Regions from separate parts of the Homo sapiens genome. Here region 1 is linked to region 2. Evidence: promoter capture Hi-C in human tissues and cell types (Jung and others, 2019). All regions are on one chromosome and are shown on one strand. The core of a region is centred on a gene start or on the middle of the fragment in contact, and the rest is flanking DNA. Distances in the headings are between cores, read along the strand shown. Region 1 holds the start of MAPK3 (mitogen-activated protein kinase 3). Region 2 holds the start of DCTPP1 (dCTP pyrophosphatase 1).

Evidence for each region. Contacts are between HindIII fragments. The study calls those that stand out against the background at their distance.
Region 1: a contact is called between the fragment with the promoter of MAPK3 here and the fragment with the promoter of DCTPP1 in region 2, in 1 of the 25 tissues and cell types used here (dorsolateral prefrontal cortex).

The regions. Positions count from the first base shown.
Region 1 is chr16:30,121,210-30,128,070 of GRCh38, forward strand. It overlaps MAPK3 (mitogen-activated protein kinase 3), which reads right to left and starts at 2,011. Exons shown (of 9, transcript NM_002746.3): 1 at 1,831-2,011; 2 at 615-797. The coding sequence starts at 2,000. RefSeq lists a silencer at 2,003-2,372. The HindIII fragment of the contact is 30,345 bases long and covers 1-6,861 here.
Region 2 is chr16:30,427,579-30,434,427 of GRCh38, forward strand. DCTPP1 (dCTP pyrophosphatase 1) reads right to left here and starts at 2,452. Exons shown (of 3, transcript NM_024096.2): 1 at 2,302-2,452; 2 at 1,479-1,589. The coding sequence starts at 2,402. RefSeq lists enhancers at 555-1,055, 1,056-1,556, 2,310-2,389, 2,790-2,899. The HindIII fragment of the contact is 14,232 bases long and covers 1-6,849 here.

The sequences.
Region 1 (6,861 bases), core at 761-3,260, 310 kb before region 2:
GCGATTCTCCTACCTCTGCCTCCCAAGTAGCTGGGATTACAGGCTTGCACCACCATGCCCCGCTAATTTTTTTGTATTTTTAGTAGAGATGGGGTTTAACCATGTTGGCCAGGCTGGTCTCCAACTACTGACCTCAGGTAATCTCCCACCTCAGCCTCCCAAAGTGCTGGGATTACAGGCGTGAGCCACCACGCCCAGCTGACAGTTTTCTTTCTCCCTGTCTCCCTTCCGGTCTGGGCAAGGAGGAAAGAGAGGAAAGAATCATCCATTCCTTAGCAAGAAGTGACTGTGGGCAGAGGCCAGGTCATGTCTCAGAACTGCCGACGTCAGAAGACACCACTCCCATAGAGACCATCCTGCCTAGCCCTTCCCCCTGGGGCACAGAGCAGAGAACCCACTTGCTCGAGGCCATACTGCCTGGGCCGCTGCAGGCCTGGGTTCATCAGAGGTCTCCAAGTCCTGTTACACTGTGGCTTCCCCTCTGCAGGAAAGTTTATTTTACTGGGTTTGTTTTGGAGGGTGGTGGGTAAGATGGAAACAGAAACCAAGCAACGGGTCCCCAGCCCAGCTGCGAGGCCGTGCCTGACCAGCCGACTGGCCAAGGTGAAGGATACACATCTCTCATGGCTTCCAGGGTGGACGCCCGCAGAATGTCTCGGATGCCGATGACATTCTCATGGCGGAAGCGCAGCAGGATCTGGATCTCCCGGAGCGTGCGCTGGCAGTAGGTCTGATGTTCGAAGGGGCTGATCTTCTTGATGGCCACGCGAGTCTTGCGCACGTGGTCATAGGCCGAGCTGAGGGGACCGGAGAGAGGCTGCTGCTGTGGCCTTACAAAGGGGGAGTCCGGGCCTGGTGGCCCCACCCAGGCCTTGGCAGGGAGGGGAGAGAGCAGGAGCTGGCTCTGGTCAAATCATAAACAATGCTGGTTCCTTCCTGCTGTGGAGGCCTGGGATCTCCAGAGAGAAAGCTGGGGACCAGCCAGGCGGCCCTTCGGTGACTTTACAAACAGAGGAAGAGACTGACCGCTCACTGACTTCCCCTCTCCTCAATCCCCTTCCATTCTACTGGCCCTGAACCCTTCGCCCCCATTCCCAGGAAAGGCTCCTTAACCCAAGACAGGTCCGGGGGTGCAGATGCTGGGGACACACCATGGGGCAAATACTGGGAAGGTGGCAGCCAGGGGAGGGGCAGGAGAGAATGGACAGGGCAGGGGAGGGTCCCAGGGTGAGGGATCCGGGCAGCGGGGCTGTCCCAGAGGGATAGAGGCCCAGAGCACACGGTGGGGCCGGGGGCACTCACAGACCCCTCCCAAAACATGCAGGTGGCACTCCTGGCCGCCTCATCTCTCTCTGGGCCCCTGGGGTGGTGGGGCCAAAGCCCTGCCCCACCCTGATCTCGGCTCTTCTCCCCCAGGCTCCCTGGCACTGCCTCACAGGGGGAATCCAAGACACCCTTTCCCCCAAAACGGGCCCTCCACTGCCTCTTCACTAAGGATGTCGCCTCCCCGAGAGTACTCATCCTCTGGGCCTCGCCCCGTGTCACTAGGGTCCCCGCGGGCCCCCACATGCACTCGGATGCCCCTCCCATCATTACAGAAGGGTGGACTCAAAGCCTCCAAGCCTGCTCCCCTGAGGACGTAGGCAGCGCCCCCTCCCCCAGAAAGCACTCAGGGGCCCCCTCCCTGGGACGCTCCCGATCATCCCGAGTCTCCTGCCTCCTCGGGACGCTCCGCGTCTCCACGTCCCGGAAAGCGCTCGGCGCCTCCTCCTCCTCTCCCGCGAAGCCCCCTCCCCTGAGGGCACCCCCTCCCCCGGAACGCCCCCTCACCTGACCATGCCGTACGCGCCCTCGCCGATGTACTGCAACTGCGTGTAGCGCGGGCCCACGTCGAACGGCTGCCCCTTCACCATCTCCACCTCCCCCGGGACCCCCGGGCCGACCCCCTCGGTTCTACGGGGCTCCCCGCCCCCGCCCCCCTGAGCCGCCGCCGCCGCCATCTCCACTCCTCCCCTCCCACCGCCCTCCTCCCCACGGCGGCCCCGCCCGAGGCCCCGCCCCTTCCCGCCTGCCTGTCACCCGCAGGGCCGCGCGCGCCAGGCCCCGCCCTTGCCCCGGCCCCGCGTGGGCCTGGAGCTGTCACGTGACCCGCCCCGCGCGCGCCCGCCCTTCTTGCCCCAGGTTCGGGGGCCATGGGTCCCTGCGGGCTCCGCGGCCTCCAGGTCACCGGGAGGTTCGGCAGCGCCGCCTCGGAGACTGTCCTCACCCTCCCCTCGATGGCGAAGCGGCCAGGGCGTGACCTACCAGAGCCACCCAGCCAATGTATGCGGCAGCCCACCAGAACCTGGGCCCGGGATCACCCTAGGTTAAAAATAATGTTCTAATAAATGGATCAAATTTTACAGATGGAGAATCTGAGAGTTAGGTTTACTAACTTGGGTAAGGTCACTAGTAGTGACAGCTGAGACTCAAAATGGTGTCTTCTGACACAGAGACTCTTTCTAATTCCATGCCTCTCAGAGTCCTAGACTGTTTTTATTTTATTATAGAGACAGGGTCTCTCTCTGTCGTCCAGGCTGGAGTGTAGTGGTGCAATAATTGCTCACTGCAGCCTCAACCTCCCTGGGGTCAAGTGATCCTCCCACCTCAGCCTCCCAAAGAGCTGGGACTACGAGTGCGCGCCACCACGCCCTGCTAATTAAAAAAAAAAATTGGGGGGCTGGGCACGGTGGCTCACGCCTGTAATCCCAGCACTTTGGGAGGCCGAGGTGGGCAGATCACCTGAGTTTGAGACCAGCCTGACCAACATGGTGAAACCCCGTCTCTACTAAAAATACAAAAATTAGCTGGGCATGGTGGCACGTGCCTGTAATCCAAGCTACTTGGGAGACTGAGGCAGGAGAATCGCTTGAACCCGAGAGGAGGAGGTTGCAGTGAGCTGAGATTGCACCACTTCACTCCAGCCTGGGCGACAGAGCAACACTCCGTCTCAAAAACAAAAAACAAAAAGAAGAAGAGAAAAAGTAGGGTTGCAGAAGGTAGGGACTGAAGAAAGGCATGAAGGAGAAGGATCGGGGTGAGCTGAGGCATAAAGGCAGAAGCATAACTTGTCCAGCATGGCTGCAGTAAAAAAATGATGAGGTTTCAGCCTGGAGAGGTAGGTTGGGGCCAGATTAGGAAGGCTCTGGATTCTGGCAAGGAGTTTGGATGTTACTCAGTAAGCAGTAAAAACCCTAGAGGGACTTTTGCCAGATCATTTTGCAACTGCGGGAGAATATAGTGACTCAGAGAAAACACTATGGAGTTCAGCATGGAGCCAGGTTTGCTGAGTGGGAGTGAGTTTCCCAGCATAGGAAAGGCTGGTGTATCAGAGCTGCAAGCTGCCACCTCCTGCTGCTGGAAGCTCAGTTAGAGTGTGACTGAGATTCCCCTCTAGTGACTGAGGTTGGCATTTCCTTGGAGGACTGGACTGGGATTTGTTCTGGTTCATAGACGCATATTCAACTAATGTAGACTTACCATCTCTTCTGTGCCAGGCACTTTTGGTTTTTTTTTGTTTGTTTGTTTGTTTGTTTTTTTGAGACGGAGTCTTGCTCTATCACCCAGGCAGGAGTGCAAGCTCACTGCAACCCCTACCTCCTGGGTTCAAGTCATTCTCCCACCTCAGCCTCCCAAGTAGCTAGGATTACAGGCGCCAGCCACCACGCCCGGCTAATTTTTGTATTTTTAGTAGAGACGAGGTTTCACCATGTTGGCCAGGCTGGTCTCAAACTCTTGACCTCAGGTGATCCACCCACATTGGCCTCCCAGAGTGCTGAGATTACGGCACCTGGCTTGCCAGGCACTTTTATGTACACTACCTCCTGTAATCCTCACAGCAGCCATATGAAGTAGATACTATTAACATTTAACTGGAAAATGATGCTGGCTGGTCGTGGTGGCTCACCTCTGTGATTCCAGCACTTTGGGAGGCTGAGGCAGGCTGATTGCTTGACCCCAGCAGCTGGAGACCAGCCTGGGCAACATAGTGAGATCCCATCTCTACCAAAAATACAAAAATGAGCTGGGTGTGGTGGCATGCGTCCGTAATCCCAGCTACTTGGGAGGCTGAGGCAGGAGGATCAGTTGAGCCCAGGATGTTGAGGTTGCAGTGAGCTCTGATGGTGCCACTGCACTCCAGCCTGGGTGACAGAGTGAGAGACCCTGCCCCCACCCCCACCCCCCCAAAAAAAGGGACAGAGGGAAAACGATGTGGAAGCTTACGCTCTGTCACCCAGGCTGGAGTGCAGTGGCGCGATCTCAGCTCACTGCAAGCTCCGCCTCCCAGGTTCACGCCATTCTCCTGCCTCAGCCTCCTGAGTAGCTGGGACTGCAGACACCCGCCACCATGCCTGGCTAATTTTTTGTATTTTTAGTAGAGACGGGGTTTCACCGTGTTAGCCAGGATGGTCTCCATCTCCTGACCTCATGATCCACCTGCCTCGGCCTCCCAAAGTGCTAGGAGTACAGGCGTGAGCCACTGTGCCCGGCAGAATTATTTTTCTAGCACAGGGTCTTGCTCTGTTGCCCAGGCTGGAGTGGAGTGTAGTGGCAAGATCATAGGTCACTGCAGGCTCGAACTCTTAGGCTCAACAGATCCTGCCACCATGCCTAGCACACACAACCACGCCTAGCTAATTTTTTTTTTTTGTTTTTGAAACGGAGTCTTGCTCTGTTGCCCAGGCTGGAGTGCAATGGTGCAATCTCAGTTCACTGCAACCTCTGCCTCCCGGGTCTCCTGCCTCAGCCTCCTGAGTAGGTGGAACTACATGCGTGTGCCACCATGCCTGGCTAATTTTTTGTATTTTTATTAGAGAGGGGGTTTCACCGTGTTAGCCAGGATGGTCTCTATCTCCCGACCTCGTGATCCGCCCGTGTCGGCCTCCCAAAGTGCTGAGATTACAGGTGTGAGCCACTGCGCCCAGCATTTTTTTTTTTTTTTTTGAGATGGAGTCTCCCTCTGTGCCCAGGCTGGAATGCAATGGCACAATCTCGGCTCACCTTGACCTCTACTTCCCAGGTCAAGCGATTCTCCTGCCTCAGCCTTACAAGTAGCTGGGATTACCGGCACACGTCACCACGCCTGGCTAATTTTTATATATTTAGTAAAGATGGGGTTTCACCATGTTGGCCACGCAGGTTTCAAACTCCTGACCTCAAGTGATCTGCCCACTTTGGCCTCCCAAAGTGCTGGGATTACAGGTGTGAGCCACCGTGCCTGGCTTGGCTAATTTTTAGAATGTTTGTAGAGAAGGGTTCTAGCTAATGTTGCCCAGTCTGGTCTCAAATTTCTAGGCTCAAGTGATCCTCTCACCTCGGCCTTTCGGAGTGCTAGGATTACAGTCATGAGCCACTTCGGCTGGCTCCAGATTAAATCTTAAACCAGTTATTAGCTTTTTGTGATTTTCAAGGTCTGGCACTTCTTTTTTTCTTTCTTTCTTTCTTTTTTTTTTTTTTTGAGGCAGTGTCATGCTGTGTCGCCCAGGCTGGACTGCAGTGGTGCGGTCATGGCTCACTGCAACCTCTGCCTCTCAGGCTCAAATGATCCTCTCACCTCAACCTTCTGAGTAGCTGGGACCACAAGCATGTGTCACCATGCCCAGCTAATTTTAGTATTTTTGGTAGAGATGGGGTTTCACCGTGTTGCCCAGGCTGGTCTCAAATGATCCGCCCACCTTGGCCTCCCAAAGTGCTGGGATTACAGGCATGAGCCACCATGCCTGGCCTGAAATAGTTATTTATTCTTCTTATTATTAGTAGTAGTATTCTGGTCTTTCATGACCGTAGACTTTTGAAGATTATAGGTCAGTTATTTTGTAGAATGTCCCTCAGTTTGGGTTTGTCTGATATTTCCTTGTGATTCTCATGTCACTTTGCCTTTACTATTGTATTGTATCGAGACGAGGTTCACCATGTTACCCAGGCTAGTCTTGAACTCCTGGTCTCAAGAGATCTGCCCACCTTGGCCTCCCATCATGCTGGGATTACAGGTACAGGTGTGAGCCACTGCGCCTGGCCTTTCTTTTCATTTCATTTCTTTCCTTTTTTTTGAGACAGGGTCTCGCTCTGTTGCCCAGGCTAGAGTGCAGTGGCATGATCACAGCTCACTGCAGTCTCAACCTCCCAGGCTCAAATGATCTCCCTTCCTCAGCCTCCCAAGTAGCTGGCACTACAGGTACACAATACCACATCTGGCTAATTCTTTTTGTATTTTTATTAGGATGGGTTTCACCATGTTGGCCAGGCTGGTCTCAAACTCCTGACCTCAAGTGATCCACCTGCCTTGGCCTCCCAAAGTGCTAGGATTACAGGTGACAGCCACTGCGCCTGGCCTAATTTTTTAAATTTTTTGTAGACACGACAGTCTGGCTATACTGCCCAGGCTGGTTCTTTTTTTTCCCCCTGAGTCAGAGTCTTGCCCTGTCACCCAGGCTGGAGAGCAGTGGCTCGATCTCAACTCACTGCAACCTCCACCTCCTGGGTTCAAGCAATTCTCCTGCCTCAGCCTCTCGAGTAGCTGGGATTACAGGTGCCCGCCACCACGCCTGGCTAATTTTTGTATTTTTAGTAGAGATGGGGTTTCACCATGTTGGCCAGGCTGGTCTTGAACTCCTGACCTCGTGATCTGCCCGCCTCGGCCTCCCAAAGTGCTGGGATTACAGGCATGAGCCACTGCGCCCGGCCCCAGGCTGGTCTTAACTAGGTTCCTTTCTGTCTGTCTCCTTCCTCCTCAGATATGCCTAAAACATGGCCCTGATGAGGTTGTAGTAGGCAGGAATCTTTCAGTAACAAGTCTTCAAAGACCCAACTCAAAAGGACTCA
Region 2 (6,849 bases), core at 1,202-3,701:
TTCTAATATGAGATTACTGATTTACTGTCAATCTCCTTCCACTGTGAAGGTGGAAACCTTTCTGCCTTGTTCCAGGCCATATCTCAATTCTAGAAGACCTAGCACATAGGTGATGTTCATAAATCTGTCATGAGGCCATGTGCAGTGGTTCAACCTGTAACCCCAGTGCTGCGGGATGGTGAGGCAAGTGAATCACTTGAGACCAGGAGTTTGAGACCAGCCTGGGCAACAACAGCGAGAGATCCCATCTCTACAAAAAGTAAAAATAAATTAGCCAGGCTTGGTGGTGGCGCACGCCTGTAGACCCAGCTACTCCGAAGGCTGAGGTGGGAGGATCGTTTGAGCTCCTGAGGCTTCAGTGAGCTATGATCACACCAGTACACTCCAGCCTCAGCAACAGAGTGAGACCTTTTCTCTTAAAAAAATGACTGTCCTGGTCTAGGGCTCATCGCCTCTTGCCTGGTCTACACCAGCCAACTCTCTGGTGTCCCCTGCCCCATTCTCTCAGTGATCCATCCAATCCACCCTGTAGACACAGTGACCTTTCCAACACTCATATCTGGTCAGGTCTTCTGTCCAAACTCTCCATCATACTCTAGCCCTAATCATATCTTTGTGGGTTCAACTCCCACCCCTCTCCTCCACAGCCCTATCACTCATCCAACGTGTGCCTATTGAGCGCCTACTATGCGCTGGGCACTTGGGACACATCAGAGAAAACAGATCCCAAATCCCTGATTTTTCCTGAGATGCTTACAATGAAGGAGCGTCAGATTCTCCCTGAATTGAACTTGCCCTTTCTTGCCTCACTGCCCCTGCAAATGTAGTTCCCATGTCTGGAATGCCACAGGCAGGTCCTCTACAGAATACCTTCCTTTCAGCCCCAGAGGCAGAGGAAAAGGGTTGTTGGGCCAGGCGTGGTGGCTCACCCCTGTAATCCCAGCACTTTGGGAGGCCAAGGCGGGTGGATCACCTGAGGTCAGGAATTTGAGACTAGCCTGACCAATATGGTGAAACCCCGTCTCCACTAAAAATACAAAAATTAGCCAGGCGTGGTGGGGGGCACCTGTAGTCCCAGCTACTCGGGGGGCTGAGACAGAACTGCTTAAACCCAGGAGGCGGATGTTGCAGTGAGCCGAAATTGAGCCACTGCACTCCAGCCTGGGCGACAGAGCGAGACCCCGTCTCAAAAAAAAGCCAAAAAAACAAAAAACAAAAGAAGGGAAAAGGGTTGTTGCCACTGCTTCTTCCTAGACGGGACCTGTCCTGATGCTTTCACACCTCACACCTCTCTCTTCCAGGAGGCTGAGTGCCCCTAGAGGGCAGGGACCCGTGAGTCCTCTCTGCATCCCAACAACAGCAAAGAGCCTAGCAATCAGGAGGGGAAACTGAACCCATGAATGTTTGAAGACCAAATAAATGCTCCCCTCCCCTCCCCCACAACTCAGACTCTACCAGGAAGCTTTCCATCTACTCACAAGAGTTCTGCCAGCTCCCCCACTTCCCCAACCAAGGCCAGGAGGAGATTCCGAGGCTGATGGAACTGTTCCCAGTCTCGTTCCGCAGCAAACTCAGCATGGAGGCGGCGGCTGAAATAGGACAAAGGAGTGTAAGTCCAAGTCTCCGGGTTAGAGGGTGATGCAGGGGCCAGAGGCAGCTACCCCCGTAGTATGTAATGGGGCCTGGGACCAGGAGATTCTGCAACTAATTCATTGGATGGTATTGTGCAGGTCATTTCCTCTTTCCGGAACTTGGTTCCCTCATCTATAAAATGGGCGTGCCCCTGAACTGCCCTTAACATCTCGCCAAAACTAACAAAACCCTCTTCATTATTCCATCTCCTGCTGCTACTTCTGCAGTTTCCTCCACCTGGAATCGCCGCACATCAAAATGCAATTTCTCTTACAGAAGGTAGTTCCACAGACCCTTCCTCTAAGAAGCCTTTCTTGACCTCCTCCAGCAAAAAATAACGTCTCCCACCTCTCAGCACTTCGTTTGCCCCTCTCGTACCCCCGGCGCCTGGAGAGCAGAGGCGGTATCTGGTGCCGGTATCTTCCCAGGGCTAGGCTGAAGGGCGTTCCTAGTTACCACTCGGAGGCACCACCCAATTTCCCTTGCCTCAGGTGTGCACCGCTGCGCCCATTTTGCAGATGAGGTAAGAAGGCTCACCCAGGGACAGCCCACAGAGCCAGGACCCGAGCCCCGCTGCCAGCCCGCTTCCCGACCACGTGGAGGAACCCTCCCCAAAACGCGGGAGAAAGGGGCGACTTCCCCACCCCGAGCTGGGCCAGGCCTGCTTACATGTCCTCGAGCGTGGGCTCCGGGCTGAAGCTGAACCGGCCGGGAGCAGCAGTGTCCTCTCCCCCCGTGTCCCCACGAATCTCCCCACCGGCCACAGACATGCCGCCCACCGCTGCACCGCGACTTCACGGAAAACCCACGAGCCACGCTCGAAGCCCCGCCTCCAGAGCTCCGACCAATTACGGGAGTTCTCTATTGCCTCACGGGGCGGAGCCTGAGGAAAGAGACCAATGACTTTTGTGGAGTTTGCTACAGCCCTCCCCTTCCCTCACTGGACCAATCTGAGGGAGCTTCAAGCGCGCGTTTCTAGTCTTAGGCCCTGGAATTCTTCCGCTAGGCCCTGTGTCTAAAGGTAGAGGTACCAATTCGACCTGGGGAAGAGACGAAGGGCAGAGGGTGGGGGAAGCGCAGGCGCGTCACTTCGTTTATGGGCGCCAGAGGGCGCCAAAGCGAAACGGCAGCGGAAGAGGGCCCGTCAGGTGGAAAACCCTATAAATGAAAGGCCCTATGCATAGGTATTAAATCAGGGCTTAAGGACGTTGAGAAACCTCGAGGCCAACCCCCACACTATTTGGATGGGATTGAAGGGGAAGAGCGGAGTAAGATCAGACGGCAGTAGGACTTCAGCTCCCCGCCATCGCTGTGTCCTGTGGTTGAAACGATGGAGGTCGCCCCATCCCTGTCCTAAGGGAGGCAGTAGGCCCCAGCGCAACGTACATTGCCCTGAAACACGTGGCCCCTTATGGTCTGGCCTGTGCCGGCCTCTCCAGCCTCATGGGTCCCCAGCACGGCTCCTCCACCCCACACACGAGAACTCCAGGCTCCACTCACACCAGGGAATACGCGAGGTGGCGAGTCACAGGGTTGCTGCTTTCAAATCAGAACCACTGAGTTATTGGCCATGGGAGGAGCAGAGATCTTTATGAAACCCTAGAACAGGTGTAGTCTTGCAAAGAATGATTTATTATTGTACCCTTATTAGGGCTACTATCTCTGATTTCCACGTTTAAAGAGGCTTCCAGCTTGCTGGAAGTGAAAGCGTAAGAAAGCGCAGGAAGAGGCAGAGTCAGATTTTGGAAATTAAAATCCCAAGGCTGTGACAATTGCAATTCTAGGTATATGCCCTAGAGAAATTAATGAATATGTGCAGAGAGACACATGCAAGAAGTTCATTACAGTTTTGTTTCTAAGAGTGAAAAAAATTGAAAATAAAATGACTATCAACGGAAGAATGGCTACATGGAAGTATATTTATACAAATGATATTATCCAGCAGTTAAGATTGGATACATGCAACAGAAACAAGTTTAAACTGCTTTTAGCAAGAAAAAGAAATCTATTATTTTTATTTTTTAAATTTTTTATAGAGACAGGGTTTCACCATGTTGCCTAAGCTGGTCTTGAACCAGGATTGCTGGATTGGGCTCTAGCAATCCTCCTGCCTTGGCCTCCCGAAGTGCTGGGATTACAGGCACGAGCCACCCCCACCGGCCACAAGGAATTTATTGTAAGGATACAAGAGTGTCTCCAGAATACAGTGGGACCTCAGGAATGAACTGGAACTGGGGTGGCTGTTTTAAGCATTTTACATATTTAATCCTCATAGCAACTAATTTAATCCTCACAAAAACCCTATATGGTAGGTAATATTGTTGTCATCCCCATTTTAAAGATAAGGAAACTGAGGCCGGGCGCGGTGGCTCACGCCTGTAATGCCAGCACTTTGGGAGGCCGAGGCGGGCGGATCACGAGGTCAGGAGATCGAGACCATCCTGGCTAACACGGTGAAACCCCGTCTGTACTAAAAATACAAAAAATTAGCTGGGTGTGGTGGCGGGCACCTGTAGTCCCAGCTACTCAGGAGGCTGAGGCAGGAGAATGGTGTGAACCTGGGAGGTGGAGCTTGCAGTGAGCCGAGATCGCGCCACTGTGCTTCAGCCTGGGCGAAAGAGCGAGACTCCGTCTCAAAAAAAAAAAAAAAAAAAAAAAAAAAAAGATAAGGAAACTGAGAGGTTAAATAACTTAACAGCTAGTAAAGTGGTAGAGCTGGCGTCAAATCCAGGCAGTTTGGCTTCACAGTCTGTTATTAGACCCTATGATGTATTGCCTGAAATGGCGATAAATATGAAAAAAATAAATGTAACTGTATTTTAAATACTATGAAAGGCTGGGCGTAGTGGCTCATGCTTGTAATCCTAGCACTTTGGGAGGCGGAGGTGGGCAGATCACTTGAGATCAGGAGTTTGAGACCAGCCTGGGCAACATGGTGAAACCCTTTCTCTATTAAAAATACAAACTTAGCTGGGTGTGGTGGTGCATGCTTGTAGTCCCAGCTGCTCAGGAGGCTGAGGCATGAGAATCACTTGAACCCGAGAGATGGAGGTTGCAGTGAGGCGAGATTGTGCTACTGTACTCTAGCCTGGGTGACAGAGCAAGACCCTGTCTCAAAAACAAAACAAAACAAAACAAACAAAACAAAATCTGGGCATGGTGGTGCACACCTGTGGTCCCAGCTACTTGGGAGGCTGAGGTGGGAGGATCACCTGAGCTTAGGGAGGTCAAGCCTGCAGTGAGACATGATTACGCCACTGCACTGCAGCCTGGGCGACAGAGTGAGACCCTGTTTCAATAAATACATACATATATACTATGAAAAGTGATTGGGGGCATGTTTAGATTGCATGGTCCAGGAAGATATATAGTAAGCACTGTAGGTTACCTACTTAATTGCTCTTTTTCCTCTTCTCCATTCTCTTTTTCTTTTTTCTTTTCTTTTTTGAGGAGGAGACAGGTTCTGGTTCTATTGCCCAGGCTAGAGTGCAGTGGCACAATCACAGCCCACTTGTGTAGTTAAGACTACAGGTGAGCATCACCATGCCTGGCTCCTCTTCTATTCTTGCAGAATTTTTTTTTTTTTTTTTAGGAGTCTCACTCTGTCGCCCAGGCTGGAGTGCTGTGGTATGATCTCTGCTCACTGCAACCTCCGTCTCCTGGGTTCACGTGATTCTCCTGCCTCAGCCTCCCAAATAGCTGGGATTACAGGTGCACACCACCACACCCAGCTAATTTTTGTATTTTTAGTAGGGATGGGGTTTCACCATGTTGGCCAGGCTGGTCTTGAACTCCTGACCTCAAGTGATCCTCCCCCTTCTGCCTCCCAAATTGCTGGGATTACAGGCGTGAGCCACCGCGCCCGGCCACTTACAGAATCTTGATTTTGTTCTGGGGTCCACGCTCCTCCACTTGATTGTTCTGCCTGACTGGTCATAGTGTTCCCATTGCCCTGGCCATTGATTGGTTTATGAATGAGCATGCTATGGATAATAAGTTGGAAGTCTTTTTTTTTTTTTAGACAGAATCTCGCTCTGTCGCCAGGCTGGAGTGCAGTGGCGCAATCTCTGCTCACTGCAACCTCCACCTCCTGGGTTCAAGCGATTCCCTTGCCTCAGCCTCCTGAGTATCCGGGACTACAGGCGTGTGCCACCACGCCCAGCTAATTTTTTGTATTTTAGTAGAGACAGGGTTTAACCATGTTGGCCAGGATGGTCTCGATCTCCTGACCTTGTGATCTCCCTGCCTCGGCCTCCCAAAGTGCTGGTATTACAGGTATGAGCCACTGCCCGGCCAAGTTGGAGGAACTCTATTGGATTTCTGGGAAACGTTCTTCTTAGTTCTTTAAAGAAATTACAGGGGCTGGCTATGGTTGTTCATGCCTCTAATCCCAGCAGTTTCAGAGGTGGAGGCAGGAGGATCTTTTGAGGCCAGCCCTGGCAACATAGCGACACTCTACACAAAATTAAAAAAAAAATTAGCTGGGCATGGTGGCATGCACCTGTATTCCTAGCTACTCAGGAGGCTAAGGTGGGAGGATCACTTGAGCCCAGGAGTTTGTTATAGTGAGCTATGATCAGCCCACTGCACTCCAGCCTGGGTGACAGAGGGAGACCCTGTCTCAAAAAAAAAAAATCAAACAAACAAACAAACAAAACCACAAAAGACACAGGATGTTTCTACCTCTAGATGTTGGTATATGGAGAGAAGATTGAGAGGAAACCTAGTCCTCAGGCTGAAATTGGCAAGTCAGCCAGATACAAAGGAACTTGATCCTTCCTAACATTGCTGAGCCACTTATTGTACAAGTTCCAGAAATACCCTAATTTCGGACTCTGGCTATATAAGAAAATGAATCCCTTTAATGGTCAAACTACTTTTAGTTCGGTTTTTTGTTACTTGCCTTGGAGAAAGTGACATTTAAGCTGAGGACAAATCAAGGGGAATAGAGTTCTAGGCAGAGGGAACAACCAATGCCTAATGCAGGAAAGGCTTGGCATATTGCAGTGTGGCAGGAAGGCAGTGAGCAAAGCAGAGAGTGGTTGCATGTGTACGGTGTAGGAGAAGTAAAAAGAGGTCAGATCAGACCAATTCACCACGAGTTTCATTTTAGATTTTTTTTTTTTTTTTTTTTGTAGATGTAGTCTCCCTCTGTTGCTCAGGCTGAAGTGCAGTTGTGCGATCTCAGCTCACTGCAACCTCTGCCACCCGGGTTCA